Linked DNA regions of Homo sapiens: region 2 is linked to region 1. The links are contacts of gene promoters, found by promoter capture Hi-C in human tissues and cell types (Jung and others, 2019). All regions are on one chromosome and are shown on one strand. The core of a region is centred on a gene start or on the middle of the fragment in contact, and the rest is flanking DNA. Distances in the headings are between cores, read along the strand shown.

Region 1 (7,684 bases), core at 1,389-3,888:
CCTGGCTTCATTTGTTGACAAGTGACAATTGTATTACAAGGGCCTATTTCTATGTTTAGTCCCCAAGGGAGTGCAAGCTGAAGCACAGACTATCCTCTTCCCTGCAGCATGCCTACACGCAGCACAGTGTCTGCGCGTGGGAGGTCCACTATTTGCTGCCCGCCTGAACGGGTAGAAATCTTTCACCTTCAGTGAAGACTCCTCGGCGCTGGCCTCTTTGAGCTCCTAATTGGATGCAGTTTCCCCCACTCCTTGCTCTACCTGATGCTTTTTTCATCTTGCCTTTCCTTCTGAGTCCTTTGATGTGTGGTGTATGTGTTCTCCTCTTTCCACTCTCTCTCTGCAGAAGTCGGTTTCACTCCAATACGCCCCAGCCCCATTCAAAGTACTTTCGAGTGATAGATTTGTGTCCAGATTTGTGAGATTCTAAAAGGACCAGGTGACAGGGAGGGTGGAAATGCAGCTTCAGAACGGCCATGTTGGGTGGTAAGGTAAGAAGGCAGTGGCAGCCCCACTGGCGATAAATCATGCCAATCGGAAGGGAAGATGTCAGAGCAGGGACACTCAGCACTTGGGGCATTCCCTGGCACATGCGACATCACAAAATATGTGCTTTTTTGACCCTCCCACTCTTTCCCTTGGACATGTAATAATCACACATGTTTAAAAGGACTCATGCGGTGGAATTTCTCACATAGAACATTCAGGTAGGGGTAGATAGATACTTGGGGAGCAAGAAAGTTTCTGTGTTGTAGTAGGAGGAGGGAGAGGAAAGACCTTCCTTGGATAGTTTTTTGGACGTCGCTATACCTTCACAACTTCACATTCTTCTTCTTCTTCTTCTTCTTTTTTTTTTTTTTTTTTTTTTTTTGAGACAGGGTCTCTGTTCCATCGCCCAGCCTGGAGTGCAATCGTGCAAACACGGCTCACTGCAGCCTCGACCTCCCTGGCTCAAGTGATCCTCCCACCTCAGCCTCCCAAAGTGTTGGGATTAAAGGTGTGAGCCACCGAGCCCGGCCCCACATTCTTCTAATTTTTTTTTTGTTGTTGTTGAGATGGAGTCTCACTCTGTCGTCCAGGCTGGAGTGCAGTGGCGCGATCTCAGCTCACTGCAACCTCCCAGGTTCAAGCAGTTCTCCTGCCTCAGCCTCCCGAGTAGCTGGGATTACAGGCGTGCGCCACCATGCCCGGCTAATTTTTGTATTTTTAGTAGAGACGGGGATTTCACCATGCTGGCCAGGCTCGTCTCGAACTCCTGACCTCGTGATCCGCCCGCCTGGGCCTCCCAAAGTGCTAGGATTACAAGCGTGAGCCACCGCGCCCGGCCCATTCTTCTTTTTTAAAACAACCTTTCCCCTCATAAAAGTAATATTACCATTTTACAAAAAATTGGAAGGCAAATCATTTTTAAAAATCCCGCCAAAGGAATGCAAACTCTTGTGAGCATTTCAGGACATTTTCCTCCAGTCTCTTCCCCTGTGTATCTGGATTTCAATCAGGCTCTACCAGATATTTTTGTATCACTGTAACTGTTTAAAAATCTCCCTGATACTGTCCTGCATTTCCTGGCATAACGTGTTGCGGCTGTGGGTCTGGGGCACGAAGTAGGTGGGAGATTTAGAGCAAGACACAGCCCCAACTCTGGAGCTTCAGCTTCCCCAGCTGGGAGCCAGTGAAACAGAAGTTCCCGTCTAGGCTGAAAGTTTTAGGAGTTGACCCGGCTTCCTCCCCAGCAATGGTCTACTTGGGTCTCCGCTCAAACGATCAGACCCCACAAACCGGATGAAGCGCTCAGGGAAGGTCAAGGAACTCCCGCCTAGTGTGGGCCCCCAGGTTAGCCCTTCTAGGGCTGTCCTGGCGGGGACGCAAAGTGGCCACCTGCCCAGCTGCCCGCTTCCAGAGGCGTCCTCCCTGCGCCGCCCGAGAGGACCGGCCGCGGGCTCCCCCAGCTCCTCAGCTCCCTCGGCCCCGCCTTCAGGGGCTTTTCCCACCTTCGCGGGACCAGACGGGTTGTGTGGGAGACCGAGGGCGCAGCCTCCCGCCAAGTGCGCAGAGGGTCTCCAGACAGCCAGAGCCCGGGAGCGGGTGAAGGGAGGGCACTGCCCGCTCTCTCGGGAATTGTTTGCGCCCGAGGAGTCACCCCAGGCAGGCCGCGCCCGCAGTCCGGGTAGGGCGTCGTCCTCCCCGCCCGCCTTCCTCTACGCGGGGGCCCGGGGGCGGACTGACGCGGCGGCGCCCATCCTGGCCTCCATGCGGTTTCCCGAGGCCGGAGGAAGGTGGCGGAGCGGGAGGGAGAGAGCGAGGAGCGCGCGGAGAGGGAGGACGGCGGAGGGGGAGGAGCAAGCGGAGGGGTGGGGGTGGGGTCGAGGAGCCGAGCGCCGAGGAGGACCCCGAGGGAGACTGGGGGCGGAGCAGCCGGCGACGGAGAGGCGCGGAGGACGCGGGGCCGGGGGAGGCGGAGCAGCGGGAGTGGGTGGAAAAGCAGAGGCGGCGGGAGGAGCGGGAGCCTCCGTGGGAGATTCGGGAGGAGCAGCCGGCGTGGGTGGAGCCGCCGGCGTGGGAGGAGCCGCGGGGCCTGGGTGAGAACGGGGCGGGACGGCCGGAGGCGGGGCCTGCGAACGCCCTGCCCCTGCTCGCCCGGGCCGCGCCGAGGAACGAAGATGGCCGGGCGCGCCGCGGGAACGGAGGGGCGGCCGGCAGCGGCGGCGGCGGCGGCGGCGGCTCCCGGGCTGTGACTTCGCGCGCGGCGGCCACCCGGGCTACCTGAACGGAGTGGGCGGCGCGGGCAGCGGCTTGCTAGGGCGGGCGGGCGGACGCCGGTGCACGGGCGCCGGGCGGAGGATGCGCCAGGAGCGGCGGGCGGCTCCCCGCGGCCGCCCCCGCGCCCCGGGCGCCGGGCCTTAGTGCTGGCGGAGGAGGCGGCGCGCGCGGGGCGGCCGGGCGGCGGCGGGGCCCGCGCCGTCATGCCTTGGCTGAGCGGCGGCCGGCGGCGACGGCGGGGACAGCCGCGCGAGGCCCCGCGGGAGCCGCCGCCTTCTGCGCAGCCCCAGCGGGAACCGCGCCGCCGGCGCCCCCCGCCGCGGTCCCCACGCCCCCAGCTCCTTCCGCGCCGCCGCCGCGGGCCCGGGAGAGCGCCGAGCTGCCGCTGCCCGCCGGCTGGGAGGAGGCGCGAGACTACGACGGTCGCGTCTTTTACATTGACCACAACACGCGCCAGACGTCGTGGATCGACCCCCGCGACCGGTAAGCGGGCCGGCTGGGGGCGCCAGACCCGGCGCGGGCGCTACGACCCGGGCCGCCGGCCGGCGCCACCGCGGATGCGCTGGGGACACGCCCCGCCCAGCGCGGGGCCGCCGCCGAGAGCCCCCGGGCCCGGGCAGAGCTCGGAGCGCCTCCATCCCCGGAACCAGGGGACTCCCTGGAGTGCTCCGGTCCAGGCTACGATCGAGGCGCCCCCATCCCTTGGGCCCAGGGAGAGGATCGGAGACACCAGGAGGCCCTCGGGGCTGGGTGAAGATCTTTGGTTCCGGGGGTCCGGGAGAGGATCCACCCTCCCAATACCCCGACTCCCAGGGCTCTGACCAAGAATGGAGGTGCCCCTTCTCCAGGCCTCGAGCCCTCTGAGCGCCGAGGCCGGCCGCCTACAGGTCCCCCGCCGCTGGGCGGACCCTCTCATTCGGTTCCCTCACGTCACCCGCTGTCCGGCGCCTGGGAACTGGGCTCCTGGAATTTCCTCTCCTGGGGCTGACAGATGGCCCTCTTTTCCTTTCTCTGCGGCAGCCTCGCCCATCCCGGTCCCGGGCGTCTGCGGCCCACTGCCCCGGCCCTGGTTCTGCAGGTGTCCCCAGCCCCGCGGTGGCGAGATGAGCTGTCACCTTGGATCACAAACGTGCGCCCCAGCTTTGGGGTGCGGGTTCCCTGTCTGGCGGGTTCAGGCTGGTTTCCATCCAAAACCTGATGTCAGACGGGCCCTTGAGGGATTCCCAACCCTTTTGGAGTTGGAGAAGTCTGTTCCCAAACTCTAGTTGCTCTTTAGCGCCTTAAAACTCGTGAGTTAAAACTGTTTGAAATAGCCTTCTGTACTGCAGCCAGAATGCAATATGATTAGTCCCATATGCTTTTGGAATAAACGAAAAACAAGAATTGTATTTTAAGTTTCCTTTTTGTGAAAGATATGCATGGGGTACAAAGCTGTCTTATTCACGTATAAAAACCCAATCAAGTAAAAACTGATTCTTGTAAAAGCACTATCAGATTTCATTTAATTAATTCCATGTAACGAAGCTCTTCCTTAACTTTTTGCTCGATTGTCTACGGGTTTCGATTGTTCAACTGCTTTTACAGAGATGTATTTTGTGTGGAATTGGGATTTCTGTGGACATCAAGTGTTTCCACAGGTTATCTGATGTCTTGTCCTCTCTAGAGCAACTCTCCTTCCAGGGCCTGAGTGCCAAAAAGGAAACACCACAGGCTTCCCAGTGATTTGAAGACTTGCAAAGGCCCAGTGTGGTGACATTGTGCCTGCTTCCTCCTACCTGCACAGGGAAGGCGGCCTGCATGGCACTGGCGTCTGAAAATAAACTTTTGAGGAGAGAAGCTGCTGAATTGTTTGAAGATTTCTCTGAGTTCAAGCAGGGGAAAACAAAAGAAAGCAAAACAAAAAGATCGTGATTCCCTAACATTCTCGCTGAACATTGCAAACCTCTGGGCTCAGAAACCTATATCAATCCTAGTACAATTTTATGGGTTAAAAAGATGCCTAGTTATTTTGAAAATCAGGTGAGATCATGTTATAATTTTAACCAAAGGCTAGAGCCCCAGCTGTTTGATCAACCCTTGGATGGTTCTGGAATTGGTAGAACTGCTTGGAATGCAGTGCCCTTTTATACCATATGTATGTTAAAAACCCAAACAACTGGAAAATGAACCAATTAAAATAGTGTTTTGCTTAGAAAAGGCTAAGGCTCACTTTCCAAGGGTAATATAAAACAGTTGTGGTTATATTGGAGTGGAGATTCATGCTGAAAGATATCAATGTGAGGATTTTCTTTTTAATGGTGTAACCTGTGACAAACGTGAATGGACCATACAGAAATCAGCTTGGAGAATCTTGTTTTCCATGTATTTCAGACACATTTCCTATATTCCTTTTTTCCAGAAATCGATTTGTTACTTTTCAGACAATCACTTAAAGGTTTTTAAAAAGTCTCCGTTCTGATGCTAAAATTGTCAATTGAGTCAACAAAAGTGGATATTTTACCTTTTTTTTGTAAAGTAAAAACGTGTGTACTTTTATGAGACGTTGTTTTTATAGTGAGTGAAAATTCAGCAGGGGACAGCTTGAACTTCAGCTCCCATAATACCTTGCCCGAAATATGTATGGAATGTTCAGCAAGCCACAAACATTTAAGTGGAGTCGGCTGAAGGCTGTAATAGTCATTCTTCTTCCTCTTTCAAAACAGAACCTGGCCGAGTTTTATAGGTGGCGGGTTACCCTTTAAAGTTGTAATTAACTTTTATTATATGGGAAGAACTGCATGTCAGAGGGCAGTGTTTTCTCCATGCGCATCTGACAGTTAAAACCCTTTTTGAGTTGCTTTTGAGTCACACAGGAAAATGGTATTCAAGAAATACGAGGACTTTCACCAAACAGCTTCCACATAGAGACCTGACAGGAGAAAGGCAAATACATAATAGCTTTTTTTTTCTCTTTAAGAAAATGAAATTGTGGTGGAATAAATGAATGTAGTAGGTTAAGTGAAAATTGTTGTTGACTTTAAACATAATTTCATATAAACTTTAGTAAAAACTGTATAGCATAAAATATGGTCCAAGGATTGTAAACAAAATCTCTTCTTGAGTTTTATAGTAATTCCATTCAGTGTTGTGTTTAACATTTGATAGTGCCGGCTCAGAGCCTGTTGGTGAAATTATTGTAACTGCTTTTTAAAGTTACAACAAAGAAGATACAAGGAGACGTCTTTACGGATGTGGCTACAGATGTATACACAATCTCAATATTTTAAAAACAATTTTTTAGTTTGATTATAAGCCTACCTTTGGTTGGCTGGGCGTGGTTGCTCATGCCTGTAATCCCAGCACTTTGGGAGGCTGAGGTGGGTGGATCACTTGAGGTCAGTTCAAGACCAGCCTGGCCAACGTGGTGAAACCCTGTCTCTACTAAAAACACAAAAATTAGCCGGACGTAGTGGTGTGCGCCTGTAGTCTTAGCTACTTGGGAGGCTGAGGCAGCAGAATCACTTGAACCCTGGAGGTGGAGGTTGCAGTGAGCCGAGATCGCGCCACTGCACTTCAGCCTGGGTGACAGAGAGAGACTCTGTCTCAAAAAACAAACGAAAAAACCTACCTTCACTTTAAATTCACTATTTCTATAGATTGATACTGTACATATAATTTTCATAGTTAGTTTACTGGGAATCATACCCAAGAACTTGGTTAAAAACTACAAAGTTAGGCCAGGCGTGGTGGTTCATGCCTGTAATCCCAGCACTTTGGGAGGCCCAGGGGGCAAGATTGCTTGAGTCCAGGAGTTCGAGACGAACCTGGGCAACATAGGGAGACTCTGTCTCTACAAACAAATAAAATAATTACGTGGGCGGGGTAGCGTGCGCCTATAGTCCCAGCTACTCAGGAGGCTGAAATGGGAGGATTGCTTGAGCTGGGGAGATCCAGGCTGCAGTGAGCCGTGGTCATGCCACTGCACTCCAGCCTGGGTGACAGAGTGAGACCTTGTCTCAAAAAACGAAACAAAACCCCACACCAAAAAAAAAAAGAAACGAAAAAACAAACTACAAAGTTAACTTATTTCTATGGCTGGTAGTTTCCTTACATGAGTCTTGTGTGGTTTACATTAGTGGCACACTAATATCTTAACTGAATATATTAACTCAGAATAACTTGACCACCTTATGAAAAGGTATTTACCATTGGGCAGAAAATATGGGAAGAACATTTTTGCCCCCTTTGTAAAGATTCACTGTCTTTGACAGTTGTGTTTACGTGTGTGTCTTGCAGGGTTATTTGGGTATTATCCTATAGATGGACTGAGTGTTTGAAACCTCATGTTCCATTTCCTGTAGCTCAGGTGGAGTTGTACGGTACTGGAAATGCCAGCTCTGGGCAGCTTAAGTATGGTGGACGATACCATATTTGAGATCAAAGTATAAATAATCATGCGGATGGCGGAAGAGCAAGATCATGTCATGGCATAAGCTTTTGGGGACCCATTTGTTCACCAGATGGGATTTGACCTGTGCTTCATGGAGGAATTCTGTGGTATCTTAAAAGTCTTCTGAAGATGCTTTTGCTTTAAGAGGAAAACAATCCATAGCTCTGGAATTTGCTAGGTTGGATCCCCATTTAACAGCCAAATAACATCATTGCTACCTTCTTGGAACCTTTATTTAGTTATTCAGTATTAACTAATAGGAGGTTTACTATATTCATCCCACAGAGTCTATTTTTGGACTATATAAACTGTCCTGGTTGAGCTTTCTGATAAACAGGTAATGATTTCTCCCTTTTTCTTTTTTTAAGGTTATAGATAGTGTTTGTATGAACATGGGGGAGCATCTTGTTTTTAAGGCTGTAAGGGGTCAGTCCCTGGAAGAAGCGGCTCTTGCTTCCATTTAGATCATCAATCCTCATTTTTTGGTCTAACATT
Region 2 (7,684 bases), core at 3,018-5,517, 130 kb after region 1:
CAGTGGAGGTGGCCTGAGCAGGCAGAAGGACACCAAGCGCCCTATGTTGCTTGTCATTCATGACGTGGTCTTGGAGCTTCTGACTAGTTCAGACTGCCACGCCAACCCCAGAAAATACCCCACATGCCAGAAAAGTGAAGTCCTAGGTGTTTCCATCTATGTTTCAATCTGTCCATCTACCAGGCCTCGCGATAAAAACAAAACAAAAAAACGCTGCCAGGTTTTAGAAGCAGTTCTGGTCTCAAAACCATCAGGATCCTGCCACCAGGGTTCTTTTGAAATAGTACCACATGTAAAAGGGAATTTGGCTTTCACTTCATCTAATCACTGAATTGTCAGGCTTTGATTGATAATTGTAGAAATAAGTAGCCTTCTGTTGTGGGAATAAGTTATAATCAGTATTCATCTCTTTGTTTTTTGTCACTCTTTTCTCTCTAATTGTGTCATTTGTACTGTTTGAAAAATATTTCTTCTATAAAATTAAACTAACCTGCCTTAAGAACAGAGTGGAAATGTGTGGCTTTATGGAAAAAGAATGTTTAATTATGGAAGCTTAAATATATAAAAATGTGTGTTTTTCAAGCATAAAAACAGAGGTATAAAATCAGAGAAAATAGCTGAACGCAGCGCTCACCCAGCTTCAACACGATCATTCACGGCTGCCCTCTCCTTTACCCTCCAGCCCACCTCCTCCTCTTAGAATTTGAAGCAAAGCCCATATAGCTTATCATTTCATCTTTAAATATTTCAATATGTATTGCTAAAAGAGAAAAACATAATAACCTTATCACATCTTAGCATTTAATAATTCCTTACTGTTACCAAATAGCCAAGGTTTTCTCTCCCATTTATCTTGTGTCATTCTTTAACTCTTTGAACAGAATCTAAACATGATTCACTTATTGGGATTTTTTTTGTCTGTGTTTTTCTTTTTTGGTAATAGCTTTTCTTGATACATAATTCACATGCTATACAATTCACCCATTTAATATGTATAATTCAGTGGTTTTAGTATATTCAGAGTCGTGCAAATATCACAATTTTTAGAACGTTTTCATCACCCCCCAAAAAAGCCTTCAGACTCATTAGCAGTTGCTCCCCAATCCTCTGAGACCCCAGCTACCACTGACCTCTCTGTCTCTACACATTTGCCCGTTCTGAACATTTCATATCAATGACATAACATGTGGCCTTTGTGTCTGGGTTCATTCACTTAGCATAATGCTTTCAAGATTCATCCGTGTTGTAGTGTGTGTTGAGACTTCATTCTTTTTTATGGCTGAATCATCTTCCATTGCATGGACAGGCCACATTTTCTTCATTTATCAGTTGATGGACACTTTGCTTCCACTTTTTGGCCATTATGGATAATGCTGCTATGGACTTTTACATTTAAGCTTTTCTGTGGATATATGTTTTCATTTCTCTTAGGTCAATACCTAAAAGTGGAATCACTGGGTTACATGGTAACTCCATATTTAACTCTTTGAGGACTTGCCAGACTGTTTCCAAAGCAGCTGTGCCATTTCCCATTCCTACCGGCAGTTGCTCCACATCCTGGCCAACACTTGTTATGTCCTTTTGCTTATAGCTATCTTAGGGGATGCCAAGTGGTATCTCATTGTAGTTATGTCTGGCTTTTTTTTGAGATGGAGTCTTGCTCTGTTGTCTAGCCTGCAGTGCAGTGGCGCGGTCTCAACTCACTGCAGCCTCCGCCTCCCGGGTTCAAGTGATTCTCCTGCCTCAGCCTCTGGAGTAGATGGGATTACAGGTGTGTGCCACCATGCTCAGCTAATTTTTGTGTTTTTGGTAGAGACAGAGTTTTACCATGTTGGCCAGGCTGGTCTCAAACTCCTGACCTCAAGTGATCTGCCTGCCTTGGCCTCCCAAAGTGCTGGGATTACAGGCGTGAGCCACCACGCCCCACAGAGTCAGATTTTTATTCTTGCCTCTACCCTATTTTTTCCCCTCTCCTTACAGGTAACCATTGAAAAGAGATTACTGTTTTTCCTTGCATTGTTATTTTAAAATATAAGCAGGTATATAAATATGTAAGTGTGTACATACAAATATATACATGTGTGCATTTACACATATACACATGACTACACAAATATGAACACATCTATATTTGTATTTTTCTCTCCTTGGGCAAATGGTAGCATAAAAACATACTTTTCTTCACCTGGCTTTTTTCACTTAAAAGTATATCCCAGCCAATGGTGGTGGTGCACACCTGTAGTCCCAGCTACTTGGGAGGCTGAGGTGGGAGGATCCTTTGACACCAGCAGTTCAAGAGTAGCCTGGACGATGTAGTGAGACTGCATTTCTTTAAAAAAAGAAAAATAGATATATCCCAGAGACCACCAAAGTCTGTATTGGCTGCTATAACAATTTACCACAAGCTTGGTAGCTTAACAAAAATTTATTTCACGGTTCTCAAGGCCAAAAGTGCTAAATCAAAGTGTCACCAGGGCTACACTCTCTTCAAAGGCCCTAGGGGAGGATCCTTCCCGCCTCTTCCGGCTCTTGCTGCTGCTGACAATCCTTGGCTTGTGCAAGAAACATGACTCCAGTCTTGGCCCCATCGTGACATCACCGTTCTCTCTGCGTTTCTCCCTGTCTTCTCTCTATTACAAGAACATCTGCCATTGGATTTAGGGCCTACCCGGTTAATCCAGGATGATCGCATCTCCAGGTCTTTAATTACCTCCGCAAAGACTCTTTGCAAATAAGGTCACGTTCCCAAGTTCCAGGTAGACATATCTTTAGGCCCACCATTCAATCCACTATGATCTGTCCTCTGCATCCCCCCCCTCCAAATTCACATCCAACCCACAAGCAAAATACATTCACCCCATCCCCATATCCCCCAAAGGTATGTGTAAGTGTTCTTTTCATTTTACCTTTGCACACAACATTAGTGGATGTACCATTGTTTATTCAACCATCTTCTGGTTGTTTCTAGTCATACTATTAAAAATAATTGAACAGGCCGGGCGCGGTGGCTCATGCCTGTAATCCCAGCACTTTGGGAGGCCCAGGTGGGCAGATCATGAGATCAGGAGTTTGAGACCAGCCTGACCAACATGGTAAAACCCCATCTCTACTAAAAATACAAAAATTAGCTGGGCATGGTGGCGTGCACCTGTAATCCCAGCTACTCAGGAGGCTGAGGCAGGAGAATCGGTTGAACCTGGGGGGCAGAGGTGGCAGTGAGCCGAGATCGTGCCATTGCACTCCAGCCTGGGCGACAGAGCGAGACTCCGTCTCAAAAAATAATAATTCAACAATGAAAGTCTTCTGCAGACATCTTTTCACATTTTTGCCAGGGTTTCTTTTTTTATTTTATTGATAGAAACGGTATTGCCGTGTTGCCCATGCTGGTCTCCAACTCCTGGTCTCAAGCTATCCTCCTGCCTCGATCTCCCAAAGTGTTGGGATTTCAGGTGTGAGCCACCCTGCCCGGCCTTTGCCAGGGTTTTCGTGAGATACATCCCAAGAAGTGGGATCTCTGGGTCAACAGTAATGCATGCGGCATGTTGCTGGGTGTTGCTGCATTTTTCTCACGGGGACTTTGCCATTTTGTATTCTCACCAGCAATGTATGAGACAGTTCCCTCACAACCTCAGCAATAGAATGGTGTCACATTTGTGAGTCTTTGCCAGTTGCAGAGGTGAGAAAGCATCTCAGCACAATCAAAATTTGTGCTTATGAGCAAAGCTGCTTTAATTATAGAGGCTTGTTGGTAAGTTTTAATATCAGTTAGGGCTAGCCCTCCTTCCTTTCTTCTTTCTCAGGGCTTCCCTGGATATTCTTGCTTATTTGTTCTTTCAAATGAATTTTATAATTATCTTGTCTAGCTCCAGGGAAAAAAAATTATGAATCTACTGGAATTGCATTAAACGTACAAATTTGGGAGAACCGCAATCTTTATGATGTTGAATCCTCTTATCCAAGAGTGTATTTCCATTTGTCCAAGACTAATTTTGTGCCTTTCAGGAATGCTTTATAGTTTTACTCGTATGTATTTTGGATATTTCTTCATGAGTTTTTGTCTATTTTGTTTTCTGTCTTTGTCTGCATAAAGACAGAAAATAACAATAAGATAAATACACATACATGCAAGGCTATTTACCTTTTTTCAGACTTTGGTGGAAAAACTAGTGTTTCCCCATTAAATAAGATGTTGAGGCCGAGTGTGGTGTCTCATGCCTGTATCCCAGCATTTTGAGAAGCTGAGGTGGGAGGACCGCTTGAGCCCAGGAGTTCAAGACCAGCATGGGCAACATAGCGAGACCCCGTTTCTACAAAAAAAATACAAAAAGTTAGCTGGGCATGGTGGCATGTGCCTGTGGTCCCAGCTACACAGGAGGCTGAGCTTGAGCCCCAGAGGTCAAGGCTGCAGTGAGCCGTGTTCATGCCATTGCACTCCAGCCTGGGTGACAGAGTGAGACCCTGTCTTGAAGAAAAAAAGTGGCCGGGGCGGTGGCTCACGCCTGTAATCCCAGCACTTTGGGAGGCCGAGGTGGGCAGATCACGAGGTCAGGAGTTCGAGACCAGCCTGGCCAACACAGTGAAACCCCATCTCTACTAAAAATACAAAAATTAGCTGGGCATGGTGGCATACGCCTGCAGTCCCAGCTACTCGGGAGGCTGAGGCAGAAGAATCACTTGAACCCGGTAGGCGGAGGTTGCAGTGAGCCGAGACTGCACCACTGTACTCCAGCCTGGGTGACACAGTGAGAATCTGTCTCAAAAAACAAAAATGAAAAGCACAGGTTGTGGCTTGTGGTTCTGACCGACTGGCTATACAATGGGGGTTCCCATGACCCCCTCCTCAAGTTCACTGACATGCTAGAGTGGTCCCACAACTCAGGGAAACATGTTTAGCCATTTGTTATAAAGGATATTACCAAAGATACAGATGTACAGCCTGATGGAAGCGATGTGGAAGGTATGGAAGGCAAGGCACGGAGCTTCCATGCCCTTCCCTAGGCACCACCCTCCAGGAACCTCTGTGTATTCAGCTATCTGGAAGCCCACGGAAAACCCTGTCCTTTTGTGGGCTTTTGTTTGTTTGTTTGTTACTGAAGTTTTGTTTTTATTATACTTTAAGTTCTAGGGTACATGTGCACAATGTGCAGGTTTGTTACATATGTATACATGTGCCATGTTGGTGTGCTGCACCCGTTAACTCGTCATTTACATTAGGTATATCTCCTAATGCTATCTCTCCCCCCTCCCCCGACCCCACAACAGTCCCCGGAGTGTGATGTTCCCCACCCTGTGTCCATGTGTTCTCATTGTTAAATTCCCACCTATGAGTGAGAACATGTGGTGTTTGGTTTTTATGGAGGTTCCATTGCATAGGCATGATTGATTACATCATTGACCACTGGTGATAAACTCAAGCTTCAGCCCCTCTCCCCTCCCCGGAGGTCAAGGAGGTGGGGTTAAAAGTCCCCAATCTGTTATCTTGCCTTGGTCTTTCTGGTGACTGGTGACCAGCCCCTATCCTGAGGCTACCTAGGGCCCTCAGCTACCATCATCTCTTTCGCATACAAAAGACACTCATTACTCTGGATGTCTCAAAACAAACAAACAAAAAACCTTTTAGCCTGGGAATGGTGGCTAACACCTGTAATCCCAGCAGTTTGGGAGGCCAAGGCAGGTGGATCACCTGAGATCGGGAGTTTGAGACCAGCCTGACCAACATGGTGAAACCCTGTCTCCATTAAAATACAAAAATGTAGCCGGGCGTGGTGGTGGGCGCCTGTAATCCCAGCCACCTGGGAGGCTGAGGCAGGAGAATCACTTGAACCCTGGAGATGGAGGTTGCAGTGAGCTGAAATCATGCCACTGCACTGCAGCTTGGGCAACAGAGTGAAACTCTGTCTCAAAAACAAACAAACAAACAAAAGGCAAAAATAACTTTGAGCAATGCTACTGTGGCCAAATTTTACTTGTTGCAGTTGCTGTAGCAGAAAGAAGGCCTTTCCCTCCTGGCTACCTATGGGCACTCCCTGTCTTCTCTCTGGTCCACTCTTCCACAGTCCCCAACTTGAGCTAACTCCCACTTGTCCTTGGATAGCTTAACCATGACTTTCTCAAGGAGGCCGGAAGTGGTCTCCATCCCTGAAGAAATTTGGCCCCTCTGCTTTATGTACGTGTATGAGTTCGCTAGGCCTGCCGTAACCAAGTCCCACAGACTGGGTGGCTTCGACAACAGACATTGATTTTCTCACTGGAGGCTGGAAGTTCAAGATGAAGGCACTGGCAGGCTGGTTTCCCGAGGCCTCTCCCCTCAGCTTGCTGCCTCCTCACGTGGTCATCACTCTGCATGCATGACCCTGGGGTCTCCTTTTTTTTTTTTCATAGGGACACCAGTCAGATGGGACTAGGGCCCCACCCTAGCGGCCTGATGTGAAAACATAACCACTTCTTTAAAGAACTTATCTCCAAATATAGTCACATTCTGAGGTACTGGGGAGTTGAGACTTCAACATATGAATTTGGGAGTACATAATTCAACCCCTAGCGGTATTTTTCCACATCACTCAACACTTCTCTCATCAGGGATTCCCCACTCTTGATTGGGAAGACCTGTTTCATGACTGTCTTCCCCATGGACTGTAAGAGGGACTCAGCAGAGGGACACAGTCACTCCCGAGCGTGGCTGACCCTCGGGCCTTGCATTCTGCCTGGTGCAGACGGAGGGCTCCGTAAATAGGAATCGGATGAATCAATGAGCCAAGGCTCTGTTCGTTTCCAATGGCTGCTGTACTTAGCGGCTTAAAACAACACATATTCATCCTTTTCCTTTTCTGGAGGGTAGAAGTCTAAACTGGGTGTGAATGGGCTAAAATCAAGTGCCAGCAGGGCTGTGTTCCTTCCATAGGCTAGTGGAGAGATTCTGTTTCCTGGCCTCTTCCAGCTTCTAGAGGCCACTTGCATTTGTTCGCTTATGGCCCTATCCTCCATCTTCAAGGCCAGCAGTGTAGCAGCTTCAAATCTCCCTCTCTGATCTCTGCTTCCATTGCCAATCTTCTCTGACTCTGACCCTCCTGCCTCCCTTTTATAATGATCCTTGTGACGACACTGGGCCCACTGGGGCCACCCAGGATCATCTCCCCACGATCTTAGGATCCCTAATCTAATCACATCTGCAAAATCTCTTTTGTCACGTAAAGCAACATCTTCACAGGTCCTGGGAATAAGGGGGTGAACATCTTTGGGGAGGTCATTCTCCAGCCCACCCTAGAAGCACTGAGCTTTGAAGGGCCGGTTCCTGTATTCAGTATGTATGTACTCCGGCATGCATCTCAAGTTTTGCTTTGGAACAAGTGATCAGACGCTCCCCTCTTAGAAGATTCCCAGGCTCCTGGTGAAGTCCAACGGCAGAGGCTGCACATTCAGTGGCATTTGGAAGCATCTTGTCTGAGACCTGTGGCTAGAGGCACACGGCCTTCTGGAATCTGTGCCTTTCCATTGTTCCCACTAACAGACGCTCTGGCCAGATTGCTGTTTCTACCCTGCAATTACAGGCAGAATCCCATGAGTAATAAACACAAATTGTTTTATTGCAATGGAGTTCGTTTAAAAGAAATATTTTACTGCATCATCCAATAGAATTATCTGCAATGATGGAATTGTTTTATATCTGCGCTAAAATACCGTAGTG

What was found. Contacts are between HindIII fragments. The study calls those that stand out against the background at their distance.
Region 2: a contact is called between a fragment that was not itself captured here and the fragment with the promoter of WWC3 in region 1, in 1 of the 25 tissues and cell types used here (hippocampus).

What each region holds. Positions count from the first base shown.
Region 1 is chrX:10,012,616-10,020,299 of GRCh38, forward strand. It overlaps WWC3 (WWC family member 3), which reads left to right and starts at 2,639. Exons shown (of 24, transcript NM_015691.5): 1 at 2,639-3,058; 2 at 3,061-3,243. The coding sequence starts at 2,964. RefSeq lists enhancers at 754-1,637, 1,638-2,521 and silencers at 2,342-2,511, 2,552-2,611. The HindIII fragment of the contact is 13,767 bases long and covers 1-7,684 here.
Region 2 is chrX:10,143,973-10,151,656 of GRCh38, forward strand. It overlaps WWC3 (WWC family member 3), which reads left to right. Exons shown (of 24, transcript NM_015691.5): 24 at 1-502. Among named protein-coding and RNA genes, the nearest start is that of CLCN4, 9.2 kb to the right of the region's middle. The HindIII fragment of the contact is 6,586 bases long and covers 975-7,560 here.